Linked DNA regions of Homo sapiens: regions 2, 3, 4 and 5 are each linked to region 1. The links are contacts of gene promoters, found by promoter capture Hi-C in blood cells and fetal thymus (Javierre and others, 2016). All regions are on one chromosome and are shown on one strand. The core of a region is centred on a gene start or on the middle of the fragment in contact, and the rest is flanking DNA. Distances in the headings are between cores, read along the strand shown. Region 1 holds the start of PYGB (glycogen phosphorylase B). Region 2 overlaps ACSS1 (acyl-CoA synthetase short chain family member 1). Region 3 overlaps NINL (ninein like). Region 4 overlaps GINS1 (GINS complex subunit 1). Region 5 overlaps ABHD12 (abhydrolase domain containing 12, lysophospholipase).

Evidence for each region. Contacts are between HindIII fragments. The CHiCAGO score rates a contact against its expected background, and 5 or more counts as called.
Region 2: a contact is called between a fragment that was not itself captured here and the fragment with the promoter of PYGB in region 1, in 2 of 17 cell types (megakaryocytes and M1 macrophages). The highest score is 5.5, in megakaryocytes.
Region 3: a fragment that was not itself captured here is called in contact with the fragment with the promoter of PYGB in region 1 in 3 of 17 cell types (M2 macrophages, M0 macrophages and M1 macrophages); the score reaches 11.1 in M2 macrophages.
Region 4: a contact is called between a fragment that was not itself captured here and the fragment with the promoter of PYGB in region 1, in 2 of 17 cell types (M2 macrophages and monocytes). The highest score is 5.8, in M2 macrophages.
Region 5: a fragment that was not itself captured here is called in contact with the fragment with the promoter of PYGB in region 1 in 1 of 17 cell types (monocytes); the score reaches 5.7 in monocytes.

Annotation. Positions count from the first base shown.
Region 1 is chr20:25,246,743-25,249,608 of GRCh38, reverse strand. It overlaps PYGB (glycogen phosphorylase B), which reads right to left and starts at 1,524. Exons shown (of 20, transcript NM_002862.4): 1 at 1,188-1,524. The coding sequence starts at 1,430. RefSeq lists silencers at 881-1,260, 1,571-1,760, 1,771-1,960, 2,141-2,220, 2,239-2,492 and an enhancer at 1,411-1,490. The HindIII fragment of the contact is 3,937 bases long and covers 1-2,866 here.
Region 2 is chr20:25,009,777-25,012,642 of GRCh38, reverse strand. It overlaps ACSS1 (acyl-CoA synthetase short chain family member 1), which reads left to right. Exons shown (of 14, transcript NM_032501.4): 12 at 1-42. Among named protein-coding and RNA genes, the nearest start is that of APMAP, 18 kb to the right of the region's middle. The HindIII fragment of the contact is 2,167 bases long and covers 310-2,476 here.
Region 3 is chr20:25,461,020-25,463,885 of GRCh38, reverse strand. NINL (ninein like) reads left to right here. Exons shown (of 24, transcript NM_025176.6): 20 at 1,345-1,503; 21 at 2,251-2,364. Among named protein-coding and RNA genes, the nearest start is that of GINS1, 55 kb to the right of the region's middle. The HindIII fragment of the contact is 3,043 bases long and covers 1-2,866 here.
Region 4 is chr20:25,418,527-25,421,392 of GRCh38, reverse strand. The region is part of intron 4 of GINS1 (GINS complex subunit 1); the gene reads right to left. Among named protein-coding and RNA genes, the nearest start is that of GINS1, 12 kb to the right of the region's middle. The HindIII fragment of the contact is 2,402 bases long and covers 229-2,630 here.
Region 5 is chr20:25,374,881-25,377,746 of GRCh38, reverse strand. All of the region lies in intron 1 of ABHD12 (abhydrolase domain containing 12, lysophospholipase), which reads left to right. Among named protein-coding and RNA genes, the nearest start is that of ABHD12, 15 kb to the left of the region's middle. The HindIII fragment of the contact is 4,842 bases long and covers 1-2,866 here.

The sequences.
Region 1 (2,866 bases), core at 275-2,774:
TCAATCTCTTAGCAATTACCGTATTAAACATATCTTAATGCCCTACAAAAATATTCTAAAATACCATCCATAAAGCAAGTGCTCACTGCCTAGATGTACACTGCAAGTAAAATCTTTGCCAAGTGGCTTCAGGTCTGGAAGTGTGTCTTTTCCTCACCAGTTCTCCCTCTACGTTAGTGTAGTAGAAAGACAATTCTCCATGGTCAAGAGTTTAAAAGCAAACGACAACAACAAAAAACTGGCAACAGGGGGCTGTGCAAGACTACCATGTACCTATCAAACTGAAAACTACCATCCTATCCATTGACCTGCAAAGCTGTTTATCAGTGAAAAAGTTACAAATGTTTACGAATGAAACAGAAAATCTAAAAAACTGTATGTGCATTATACTTTTTAAAAATGTGTATGTATATTTAGGAATACCAAAAACACAGCAAGAACACAGGCCCATAGTAAACATGGTTAAGAGTAACGGGGACAATCAGTGACTTTGTTTCACTACTCAAACAAATTTTTGCAAGATATAAAAAGTAACAATTAGTAAGATGATCTCTGTCAACTTCAACCCAAGCAAATTTCTCCAAGGGAGGTGTGGGAACCTCTAAGACAGAGCCTTCTTCGAGGGCTCCATCTCCATCTCTGAGCTTCGTACCCCTCCCTGCGTGAAGCAGGCATCTTCAGTGATTTTCTTCTAAGCAGCGTACACAAAAAAAAGTCTCACAATTCCCTGCAGATTACCGAGCTCACCCCATTCCAACCCACAAGGCTGCCCAGGCCTGGTTCCAGTCCCATTTTCTCCCACAGGCTGCTGCAGGAAAACAAAGAGTGGCTGGAGGCAGGGGCGGGGAGCACCGGCTCTGCAGCCAGCGCGGAAGCGCACGGCCAGAAAGAGACCGGGAACGTCCGCCAGGCTCCCGGGCTCAGCATCATCTGCGGGGGACGGCGGACCCCGCCAGGCGCGGGCTCCCAGTGGGGCGGACCCGTGGCCGCGGCCCTGCGCAGGGGACGCCCGGGCCCCGCCGACTGCGGCTTCCAGGCGACTCCCCAGTCGGCTGTGCCTGGCCGCCGGCCGGCTAGGGGCGCAGGTAACGCCCGACGGGCCGCCCCGCAGAGACCCCCGCTGGCGCGGCTCCGGGACCGGCGCCCTCTCAGCGGGCACGGGCGCACAGGGCGGGGCAGCGCCTCACCTTGGGGTCGCGCTCGTAGTAGTGCTGCTGCGTGCGGATCCAGCGGCCCACGAGGTGGTCGCGCACCGTGTGCGCCAGCGCGAAGAAGTAGTCGCGGGGCGTGGCCACATTGCGGTCCTTGACCAGCGTGAAGTGCAAGTGCCGGTTGAAGCTCTTCCGCACCTCGGCCACGTCGCCTAGCCCCGCCAGGCCGCGCACGCTGATCTGCTTCCGCTTCTCGCTGTCCGTCAGCGGCTTCGCCATCGCGCCGGCGGAGGCGGAGGAAAAGAGATGGAGGAGGAAAGCGGCGGCACACGCGAACGCCGGGATGGTGCAGCTGCTCTGGCGCCGCTGCTCTGGCGCCCGGCACTGCGGCTCTGCGGGCGGGATGGACCGCGCCTGCGCGCCGCGCCGGGGCGGGGCCTCGGGGGGCGGGGCGGGGCCTCGGGAGGGCGGGGCGGGCGTCCAGGCTCATAGCTGAGATCTCTGGTGTAGTCCGAGGCGGCAGCGACCTGTCCACGCCACCTGAGCGTGGTGTTTGCCCCCTCGTTGGGCAAGCCCGGCAGAAAGTGGGAGCGACTGGAGGGGGCAAGGGACCCGGGGCCTCGGAGCGTGCCGTCGTGGCCGCTCCTGCCAGCCCGGGGACGGTGCGGGAAGGGGGCCCTGCCCTCCGGCCCTCGGGTTCCTGGGACCGGCCCTCCCGCCCTGCACCGGGTCACCAGGTGCCCCGCGGGAGCGCGCTGGGCTCGGGCTGTGGCCGAGACCTGGTACACGTTCGGGGAAACTGATTACAGCTTGAAAGGCATCCACCAACGCCTGCTGGGCCCGGTCTTCTCTGTCCGGGGCAGGGCGGCTCTGAAAATACCAGCTATTTGCTTGCCACTCCAGGCCGATGACAGACGTGGAGAAAACCAGCTGCCAGCGAGCTGGAGACGCCCGTTCCCGAGGGCGCGAGGCAGCCACAGCCAAATGCCACCACGACCCCGCCTCGGAGGGACCGCAGCCCCCTAGCCCTCGGAGAAACCCTGTTCCCGAAACCACCTGGCAGACGCTGTCCGCTTTGAGATTACAGCAGGGAGAAGGAAACATGCCCGTCTGGCCGGGGAGCTCAGCCACTAACCGAGACTTAGCCTCTGTCATCCCAATCCAGGCTGCAGCTCCAGATAGGGGGCGTCTGCACACAGCTTCCCACACTTGGCCCCGCGGAACACAGTCCTGCTGGCCTCAGCCTGTGGGAACCCTGCTTCATGTAAAGGTCACCTAAACTCTGCCTTCCCTCAACCCCTTCAAACTCTGCCTTTCCCTTCGTTCTTGGGAGGCGCTCCCTCATTGCAGTGGGTCAGTACACCCGATTTTGTGGACCACAGGTTTGCTCCTGGTGGTCTTGGGCTGAAGGGGCTGCAAAGGTTACTGAATTTCGTGGAGGTAAAAATTGCCCGCAGGAAATGTCATGAAAGTCCAGGTGCAGTAGGTTTCCTGGTGTGATGCTTCAAAGTTATCTTCTTACCTGGAGCCCCTTCCAGCTGCAGACTTCAGAGGTCGGAGGTTAATCAATCTGGAATGACCCCACAGCCCACCCAGCTCCAGCTCGGGATTCACTCCTGCACTATGTCCTAGGGATTCTGGAGCCAACAAGATCGAACTTCGGGCACAGATGGCAGGGCTGTGGGGTCGAGCTTGGCTGCAAGCTCCGAACACTG
Region 2 (2,866 bases), core at 144-2,643, 240 kb after region 1:
AAAGTGCTGTCATTGGCTACCCCCACGACATCAAAGGAGAAGGTGAGTGTCCTGGAGATGAGCTCCTCCCTGATTCCTGACCCCACACCCATTATGGGCACCTCTGTACGAGGAGCAGACTCTGGAGAGTGGAGTGATAGGGGATACTGTGGGCCAAGCTCTCAGTGTTCTTCTCTCTCAAGTGGAAACTGTAGGGGAGGAGGCTGAATAGCACTCGTGTTCGGTCGGGTTTCTGAAATGCCCTGGTTCTGCTGTCCTTTCAGGACACACATCCACAGTGGCCATGACCCAGTTGGGCTTGGCTAAGCTTGGGGGGTTTCCCCTTCTGTCCATGGTGTATCTGGTGGGGACACCGTCCAGCCCCATTACAGAGAGTTTATGAGAAAATGTCCAGCCTCATGTATCCTCACGGGCTTGGTCATAGCACTCAAGCCAGCTCTGCAGCCGCCACGCGTGTGTGCCAGAGTGTGCTCTGGAGTGTGCAGGCTGTGTGCTGCGCTGGGACTCTTTGGACGAATCTGACCTGTGGTTCCCACTGCACAGCGACATGCTGGGGGAATGCAGAATGAGGGACTAGAATGGCCTTTACCAAGGCCACGCTTTGTTTCGAGTCTGCCAGCTTCTTGGTGGCTGGGTCTGGGAAGGGGCGGGAGCACCTAGGTGTTGCAATGCCAGGTCCATCCAGGCACACTGCCTGGCCTGGCGTGACCTGGACACACACTGACCCCATGCCAGGGCACTGCTGGGCAGACTGGCTTCTCCTGCCCTGCCCAGTGGCTTGGGGTCAGGCTTGCCCTCCCGCTGGGAGGCCACCCTGTGTCACAGTGTGTCCCAGATGTCACCTTCCTCCCTGCACTTCTATGTGCCGTTATTCCATTATTTACTTAAATGCTCTCTTTAAATTGACGCATTGCAAGATTGAGAATTTGTTTCAGTGCTTTACAAACAGCATTTTCAGTTGCCATGGAAAGGCTATGCTGGTAAGGCTGGGATGTGGGAGAGAGCTGGTAGGGACCCCTGCCCGGTGACATGTCCAGATGTGATCAGGAGGGTCAGAGAGGACGGAGACGAGGACAGTTTCTCAGGTGTGACTAGGGTAACTTAGTGCCCCCCTGAGGTTACCTCGCTCTGGCAGGAGCCTGGGCCCCTCCTCTGAGGACTCCTGCATTTCACATCTCTGGGCTGGGGGTCCACAGGGCACTGACGTGTCCTGGGATTTGAAAGCCCCATCTATGTCTGAGTCCAGTGGCTGAGCCAGTACTCCCTGGGGCCACTGAGAGGGGTCCGGGCATGGTCCACTGTGTCTGGGGATTCAGCAGCCCCTGGATTGAACTCCATAAAGCAAGTGCAAGATCAAGGAAAGGACAATGGAAGTGACCTTTAGACAAACGTTTGGGCATCACAATCACTGTCTTTCATAGGGTGGCCTAGCCTTAGGTCTGTTGGGGTGGTGTTGGGGCATGGTCTGCTGTGGACGCTGCTGCCCAGGGCACGTTCTGCGTGTGTGGAGCTATTGCAAGTCTGGTGTTGCCAGGCTTCTTAATGTCTGCCAGATGTGTGGGGATAATTTGTCTATCATGTGTATGATGATGTGCATTTTCCTGATTTCTAATGAATTTGAGTATCCATTCTATAATTATGAAGAGCTGATGAACAGCTCTTGGTTGGCTCTAAAGCTGCCTGTGAATATCGTATATTTGTCCCCACTCTCTCTGTTTTGCAGCAGCTCTGAAAAAGGGCAGCCCCTGGACCTTGTCTAGGACCTAGACCCAGCAAGCCTCTGGTGCTGCTGGCCAGGCTCTTGTCTCTCTTGTCTCCAGTGTCCTGAGCCTTGCCTGCCTCGTCCTGGCTCTTAACTGGCTCCTCCACCCATGTGGAAGGTTTCCTCCCTCCAGCTCCATCCTCAGAACTCAACAGTCCAGGCCCACTTCTGATCCCATATCAACGACCAAGATGAGAAAAACGGTGTTCTTTCCCTCAAAGATCTAACAGCCTAGTGGGGTGGCAGCAGGGGGACTGACAGCTGTTCCCACATAGCATGTGCCATAAACTAGATTCATGGGTGGAGTCAGGAAAGGCTTCACAGAGCAGGAGGTGGCTGAACTGAGTCTTGAGGGATGAATAGGAGTTCGCCACATGGATATAGGAAGGCCTTTCAGGCAAAGGCTGTAGGTCTTTACAGATCATAGCTTGTTCAGAAAACCAATCATCCATTCATGCACTTAACAACCATGTGTTGAGCACCTCCTGTGTTCCAGGCATGGTTCTAGATGCTGGGGACACAGCAGTGAGTGAGAAGGTCTCTGACCCCATAGAGGGGTCAAGAGTAGAGGAGAGAGACAGACAAAGAGCAAGAAAGATGATCACCAAGGAAACGACACAGTCAGTTAGGTGCTACATGCCAGGGAAGAATGGGTGAAGGTGGCATGGGGCTGGGGCAGATGAGCAGTAGGAGAGCCACACATATATAGAAGCTTCGAGGGAGAGACAGAGCACCTCACAGGCCAGTGGGGACGGGCAGGCTATCAGGGATGGCACCGGGATGAGCAACTCCTTATATGGACAACAATCAAATTAGATCCCTCTTCACAGTGTGAACTCTTCCTGGAACATGCCAGGGTACTGAAAAACGAAAGCTAGTATTTATGCTATAATGTGGGCTGGCCCGTGCTGCCCAGCAGAACTCTCAGCTGCCTCTCAGCTGTCTGTGTTGTCCAGGGTGGCAGCCTCTGGCTGCTCATGGTGCTGAATGGCACTTGAAGTGTGGCTCATGCAGCCAGGGAGCTGCTGATTTAATTGAACTGAAATAGCTACCCTGGCCCATGGCACCATGTTGCACACACACCCCCAAAGGCTGGTGGTGCCC
Region 3 (2,866 bases), core at 257-2,756, 210 kb before region 1:
TTGAGGTTCTAGGGAAGGGATGAGGTGAGGTTAATTTGCAAGGAATTGCATGAGAAAAATGCGTGGACTCCCTAATCTTGAGTAAATCCAAATGGAAAAACGTCCCAGTTTTCTTACATGCCTGTAAAACCTATAGAAGCAAAGGCAGTGGTTGTGGGCGTCACTCTGGGAAGGTGACGTGTGCGTGGTCGATTGTGCTGAGAGCGGGTCAGAGGACATCACTCCAAACCCCCAGGAGCTGCGGTGGGAAAAAGCAAGTAAGCAGAAATATGGTTGCATGAAGATGTTCCTGACAGGTGGCTGCAGACAGCAGAGCCTCCGTGGTCCAGACCGCAGGGCCACTTTCCTGCCGCTGTCACTGCACTGCGCCCTCACAGGTTCCCCTCATGAACGTTTGCTGAAATCCTTTGTCTGTGGGAGGTGCTATTGAGAAAAAGCAAAACATACAATTTGATGAACCTATGTACCCTGCCAAGAGCTACGCTTGTGTGTTCAATGACTGAGATCAGAGGAGACTTAAGAGATTCATGTACCTCAAGTTTAAATAGGTTGCTTTTTTGTTAAAATTGCCATATATTTTTAAATATATTAAAATAATCGTGGAGGAAATGAGAAAAACGTGAAAGGTCTTCCAAACAGTGGTTTGGACGGTCATGGCATATACTCCCTTCTGGTGGCCTAGATGTGTGTGTGTTTTTCCTAGGGGCTGGAGCAGGGCTTTCTGTCCTCGGCACTGGTGACGTTTGGGGCCAAATCATCTGTGTTGTAGGGTGTCAAGTGCCCCCATGCCTCCATCTCCAGCTGTGATTACCAAAAATACCTGGAGACATTGCCAGACATTTCCTCAGGAGCAAAGTTGTACCTGGTTGAGAGCAATTACAATGATATGAATTGAGCTGCTGGCTTAAAAGTATTTTAGGGGGCAAGGTGGGGCTGGGCTCAGTGGCCCACACCTATAATCCCAGCACTTTGGGAGGCTGAGATGGGAAGATCCCTTGAGGCTAGGAGTTCGGGACCAGCTTTGGCAACACAGCTAGAGACCCTGTCTCGACCAAAAAACAAAACTAGGTGGGAGTGGTGACGTGTGCCTGTGGTCCCAGCTACTTGGGAGGCTGAGGTGGGAGGATCGCCTGAGCCTAGGAGGTCACGGCTGCAGTGAACCATGAATGTGCCACCGCACTCCAGCCAGGGCAACAGAGCGAGAGCCTGTCTTGAAAAACAAAACAAAACAAAACAAAACAAATGACTACTTAATAAAAATATAGCCAATGATGGGCAAATGTATATATAACATGAAAATTAAAAACATTTTTTTCTTATGTATTTAAAAACTTTTTCCCCCAGAATCAGAACTACAAGGATCAATTATCCCAGCTCAATGTCAGGGTTCTTCAACTGGGACAGGAGGCTTCTACCCACCAGGCCCAAAACGAGGAGCATCGTGTGACCATTCAGATGTTAACACAGAGCCTGGAGGAGGTGGTTCGCAGTGGGCAGCAGCAGGTGGGTGGCCTCAGCCGCAGGGAGCTGAGCTGGAGGCTGGGAGCTCAGGGTGGGGAGGCGGCTGCAAATAGGTCAGGACACGCGCTGAGGAGCCTGGAGGGAAGTGAGGGACTTCCCAAGCATGCCTTGGAGAAGTAGGTGGACTGTGCTGTGTTGGCAAATCCCAGTATCTAAAGAAAATAGCAGAATAGCTTTATATGCTGCTGACAGAGGAGTGAATTGGTACAAAGTTCCCCGAGGGCAGTTTGGCAAAATACACACTTAGAGGCTGAAGAAAGTCCACATGCCTTGACTTCACGATTCCGATGGGGATGTTCCCGAGAGCCTTGTGGAAGGATGCAGCTGCAGCATTTTCCTTGCTGTGCTGTTTATAATAGCAAAGCAGAACTGAAATCGGCCGAGTCACCAACAGAAGCTGAGGGAGTCACTGGATCACAGCACAGCCACTGAAAACCATGTTTTCAAATCATAACTAATGCCCCAGGAAACGCTCCCACTGCAGTGAGGAGAAGGCACTTCCTGCAGTGCGTGGCGCACCTGACACTGTCTCACCAGGGAGATGCGTGTGTGTAGAGGAGGGGCCGGGGAGTGACTGCAGGACACAGGGCCGGCCTTGGTTGGTGGGTTCACAGGGATTTAAATTTTGTACTTTTTTTCTTTTCTGTAATTTTCTGAGGTTTTTGCACGAATTACATACCAGACTCTTCAGATACTTCTTGACTTGTGCAATTGATTTTTTAAAAACAGAGTGACCAAATCCAAAAACTTAGAGTTGAACTTGAATGCCTGAATCAGGAACATCAGAGCCTGCAGCTGCCATGGTCAGAGCTGACCCAGACCCTTGAGGAAAGTCAAGACCAGGTGGGTGTGAGCGATGGCTGGAGGCACTGGGTCCAGTCCCACCTGGGAGCAGCATCACCGCAGTGCCAACGGTGTTGCCAGGCCTCCTCCAGCCCAAAGAAGTAGTTGCGCTGCTGGGCACAGCTGTCCAGGTGCTTACCGGGCCAGGACCGAAGCTGCTCCCAGTGCAGGGTTGGTTTGACTGTCAGCAAGCCCCGTGAAGAGTAGTGACTGTTTACTCCCGAGGGAAGGAGTGCGGGCACCATGCCTGTGGGTGAGCCCTCCACAGAATGGAGGAGCCAGAGGCAAGCCTGGGGACTGTGTCGTCAGAACCAAGGCAGCAGGCTCCAGCCCTGGGAGTGGGGTGACATGGGCACTCATGGGCATGCATGACACTGGCCTCTGTACACGCCTCCGGGTGCCACATCTGCTGGCCCCGCAGGTGAGAGGCGCGGGAGGTGCAGACACAGGAGGCTGGGCTATGGTGGCAGGGGCTCGTGGTCCGGGACAGACAGGTGTGTGC
Region 4 (2,866 bases), core at 180-2,679, 170 kb before region 1:
CATTAACACATGATCATCTGTTTCATGTTAGTAACCTTATTTTAGCTCTGCTTTTACTTTTATTGCTAGCCTGAGTCAACAATATTGAAATCATCACTCCCAGTAATAAAGTGCTTACTATATACCAGGAATTTGCTAAAATTTTAATATGCATTATTTTCTCTTTTTCATTGCCCCATGATGTAACTACTATTATTATTTTCTTTTTATTCATGAAGGACTGAAGCTTTGAGAGATTAGATAATTTACCAAAGGGCTCAGAGTTAACAAGGCAGGGATCTGAATTTAGGTGGCAGACTCAAGCCCATGTGCTTCAGTCACCCATTGAAGCACTATCCTTGGGTAATACAGATACCTATGATGACATTCAGACCTCATAGGCTCCTATAAGCTGTCAGGGATACCTGGAAATATTCTTTGTTACTGGTCCAAAATGGCTGATGCAGTTGCCACGATGCAATTGCTCAAGCAGAGATGTCTGTGGTCTACTACAGAGTTTATCTGTATTAATCTCTTCTCATCCTTCAGTGTTTCCAAAACATCACTACTAAGAGAACGAGACCATGTATATTCCTTTTATTCTTTTTCTTTTTTTCTTTTTTTTTTTTTTTGAGACAGGGTCTCACTCTCTCTCCCAGACCAGAGTGCAGTGGTGCGATCTCAGCTCATCGCAACCTCCACCTCCCAGGCTCAAGCAATTGTCCTGCCCTCAGCCTCCCTGACCAGCTGGGATTACAGGTGCACACCACCACACCCAGCTAATCTTTGTATTTTTAGTAGAAACAGGGTTTCACCATGTTGGCCAGGCTGGTATATTCCTTTTTATAGATGAGGTCACTGGGGTAGAAGGAAGTCATTTGCCAGTTTTGCAGTAATTCACAAACTCTTCCAAGAAACTATCTCAGGTTTCACTATTCTCAAACAACTTAATCTCTAGACCCATTAATATTATTTTATATAAGGCCAGGCACTGTGGCTCACACTTGTAATCCCAGCACTTTGGGAGGCTGAGGTGGGCAGATCATCAGGTCAGGAGCTCAGGACCAGCCTGGCCAATACAGTGAAACCCCGTCTCTACTAAAAATACAAAAATTAGCTGGGTGTAGTGGTGGGCACCTGTAATCCCAGTTACTCGGGATGCTGAGGCAGGAGAATCGCTTGAACCCGGGAGGCAGAGGTTTCAGTGAGCCAAGATCGTGCCACTGCACTCCAGCTGGAGCAACAGAGCGAGACTCCATCTCAAAAAAATATATATATATTTTATTTGCTGTTAACATTGTTATATTTCATTAAAATAGAAACTGACTTTGGGAACTCAGTAATCACAGAAAAGTGCCACCCTTACAGAAACAATGCCCAATATGAAATCTAATTGATGTGCTTGAATAAATGCAGCTTGTAATCATTTACTAAATTGTAAGAAACATATTAATCGCCAGGCGCTGTGGCTCACACCTGGAATCCCAGCACTTTGGGAGGCCAAGAGGGGCAGATCACAAGGTCAGGAGTTCGAGACCAGCCTAGCCAACATAGTGAAACCCTGTCTCTACTAAAATACAAAAATTAGCCAGGCATGGAGGCACGCACCTGTAATCACAGCTACTTGGCAGGCTGAGGCAGGAGAATTGCTTGAAGCCAGGAGGCGGAAGTTGCAGTGAGCAGAGAATGCACCACTGTACTCCAGCCTGGGCAACAGAGCGAGATTCCATCTCAAAAAATACACAAAAAAATTAATCTAAAATATTGTATGAGAAAAATCATTAAAGCTACTGTCGTTAGAGAAACATAATGTTCTGTTCATCTCACCATAATACACAGTAAGTACCCCAAAGTTCAATTAATATAAGTAGATTTGAACACAAAGAGCATAAAGTGAGGTACTAACATGTTACCAATTTCGTAGTCACTGGTAAATCTGAGGTAGAGATTACTCATTTATTTATGCAGAAAATGAACAGAATGAAAATGAAGCTATGACAACAAATAGATCACTTTCAAAAATGTGCAGAATCTAATGGCAAACACATTGAATATTTGTTTTTTTTTTTTCTTTAAGTTCTGGGATACATGTGCTGAACGTGCAGGTTTGTTACATAGGTATACATGTGCCATGGTGGTTTGCTGCACTGAATATTTTCTTTCTTAAGCTCTGTGCTATGCAACTGTAATGTAGTAACTGTTAACATTTATTGAGTGCCATCCTATGCTGTGCTCCACATGGACCACCTGAAGTAACCCTGTGATAGGCCTTGTAATAACACTGTTGTAGAATAAAGAATTTGGTGGGCCTCTCTCCCTCATTCCTGGGAGGTAGCTTCTAAATTCTTGTACTTTCTCAAGTAATAGGAGTGTCTTGTTATTTATGATGTGCCCTGAGAGTATGTGCTACTCAGGTGACTCGTGGTGAACCCCTACATAGTCTGTGCTAACAAGATGACTCAGAGTTGGGACTGGCTACCCCAGAAAGACCAACCATGTGATTAAAGTATTGGGCCTTTGGCCCTCCTGATGTCAGTCTGACCTCCAGGGAGGGGAAGAGGGATGAAGATTGAACTCAATCACAGGGCCAGCAATTTAATCAGTCATGTCTATGTAATGAAGCCCCAATAAACACTCTGGACATCAAAGCTTGTGTGAGCTTCCTTAGTTGACAATAACTGCAGGTAGTTAGTGTCAAAAGTCATTGCAACCTGTAATAGATAGGTAATATGATCTTCATCCTGTAACAAGGAAATTTAGGCACAGCAACAGGTCAAGTGACTTGCTCAATATTAGACAGCAGAGATTTGAACCTAAGCCCACCTGACTCCAATCCTATGTCCTTAAATAATGGGCTAGTTCTTTGCCTCAGTGACTAGGCAAATAT
Region 5 (2,866 bases), core at 273-2,772, 130 kb before region 1:
CAGCCTGGGTGACAGAGCAAGATTCCATCTCAAAACAAACAAACAAAAAAACTAGAGGTGGGACCTTTGGGAGGTGATTGGGTCATGAGGGCTTTGCTCTCATGAGTGGATGAATCCATTCATAGATTAATGGTTTATTGAGGGTTTGGGTTAGTTATCATGAGAGTTATCACTGTTGTAAAAGGCAGTGTGGCCATCTCCTCTGATCCCCATTACCATGTGATGCCCTGAGCCACCTTGGGACTCTTCGGAGTCCCCACCAGCAAGAAGGTCCTCACCAGATATGGCCCCTTGACCTTGGACTTCCCAGCCTCCAGAATGCTAAGAAATAAATTTCCTTCTTTATAAATTACTGACCTCAGTTATTTAATTATAGAAACAAAAAACTGACTAAGAATAGGTCTCTTAGCCTCTTGCTTGACAGGATGTAATGCAAAATGCATTGCTGGCCAATAGAGCCATCTAAAGACATGAGAAAAATTCTCAGTTTGGGGACACAGGACACCTTGACAAGGCACATCATGGCATAACCTACAAGAAGGCAAGCAAAAAAGACTGCCATTCTAGGACATTCAATATCTGGCTTAGGGTTCCAGGAGGAAGGGACTGTTAGGCCAGTACAGGCCAGCTGGGAGGCTGCCAGTGCAGCCCCAGAGCCTCAGGAAAAAGCTGAAGGAGATTCTGCCAGGGCCCAGGGAAGCATCTCCAGGTATGAGGTCGCCTGGGAGATGTCATAGCTGTGGTGAAGGGCGGCCTCTGAGGGGCCCTCTCTCTCTCACTCTGTTCCTCTCTCAAACAGTTTGATTTTTTTTTCTGATTCCAAAGTAATAAAGAGTTCTTAATAAAAATTTAAAACAGAGAAAGTGAAACTCCCTCTGGATAATTGCTGTGAACAGTGTGGCCTGTGTTGAGAGTATTGCTCCTGTGTTCTTCCATCCATTTAGCAAGTATGTCTTTTTCGTTGACCTAGCCTTCACTGAAGGCTAGAGTGGATAAAATGCTGCACAAGAGTGGGACAAATCCCAGTCCTTGTGGGACTTCTGTTCTCATGAAGGAGAAACACGGCAACAAAGATAGCACATAAGTATACAGTAAAATTTCAAAGGGTGATAAAGTGCTATAAAGAAAAATAAAGCAAGGTAAGGTTATGTGGCTGTGTGTAAAGCACCTGAAAACATGCCGTACCACAGTGGTGAAATATTTTTGTTTCTGCCAGGAAAATAAGGCCTTCTCACAGTAGGATACCCAGTTGTTCAGTTCTGCCGACTGAATCCTCATGATTTTTTGTTTTCTTCTTTGGGAACAAAGAGACATTTATGGACTGCTCTTGTGTGTTTTATTAAGGCCTTAAAGTTTTCAATTCAGTAGAGTGAAATTGCTCTCAACACTGACTGCTTTTGAATATGATTATGGAGATTGTTGTTAAGATTTCCGCCTAAAAGCTAAGAAGAATTTAATCTGTTAGTCTTGGGGAATGAGATTTGGCGTTACTCTCTTGTTCCTTCTAAGAGAATACCATGGAATTAAATGATAAAACACTTTTCCTCAACAATTTTGATGGTTACATTAATGAAGGAGTTGATGAAAACTAATTGTAGACATTATTATTATTATTATTATTTTTTGAGACAGAGTCTCACTCTGTCGCCCAGGCTGGAGTGCAGTGGTGCGATCTGGGCTCACTACAATCTCCGCCTCCCAGCTCATGCCATTCTCCTGCCTCAGCCTCCCAAGTGGCTGGGACTACAGGCGCCCACCACCACGCCCAGCTAATATTTTTGTATTTTTAGTAGAGACGGGGTTTCACCGTGTTAGCCAGGATGGTCTCGATCTCCTGACCTCGTGATCCACCTGCCTTGGCCTCCCAAAGTGCTGGGATTACAGGTGTGAGCCACTGCACCCAGCTAATTATAGACATATTTTAAAAGAAACATAGAACTTCCACTACTGACCAAGGTGGCTGAATTTACCCGGAAATAACCCAAATAGCAGCCACAACAAAAACGACAACATACACGAAACAATTTTTAAAACACTGGGCACCAAGCAACAAAGGACAGTAAACTCGGAGAAGTGACAGACAAAGGAAGTGAGCCCTACAGTACCCTAGCTGATCTCCTTGAGAGAGCTTCCACGCCATGGCACAGGGAGGGGAGCCACGTGGACTCCCAGGGTTGTGGGTGTGGAGCTGAGAATCTGGAGAGACCAATGTGGCTAGAGTTTATAGGACAGAGTACCAGAGAGGAGAGAGCAACACAGAGAGAGACCCTGGGGTCTGCAGAGGGTCCCCTTGATCAGCACACGTGTGTGAGGAAACTCTCTGTGGCTGGGGAAAGAACTGTCTGAAAAGATCAGAAGATACAGTCCCTGCTACTTAGAGCAAGATTATAATTTACTGGTAGAACATTCAGGAACAGCATGCTTCAGTAGTGGGAAATTCCAGGTGTATGGGTTTGTGAGGGCTACCATAACAAAGTAACACAGACCAGGTGACTTAAATGGCAGAAGTTTATTTTCTCTCGATTCCAGAGGCCAGAAGTCCAAGATGGAGGTGTCAGCAGGGCTGGTTTCTCATGAGGCCCCTCTGCTTTGCCTGTAGATGACCACCTTCTCCATGTGTCTTCATATGGTCTAACCTCTGTGTGTGGCTCTTTCTGCATTTCTTCTTACAAAGCTGAGTCATAGTGGATTAGGGTCCACCCTGATGACCTCATTTTAGCATAATTACCTCCTTAAGACCCTCTCTCTAAATACAGTCATATTCTGAAGTGCTAGGGGTTAAGACTTCAACATACAAATTTTGAGGGGACATTATTCAGCCCATAGCACAGGCATGCAGAGTGGGAGGAAACTATGATGTGTATAT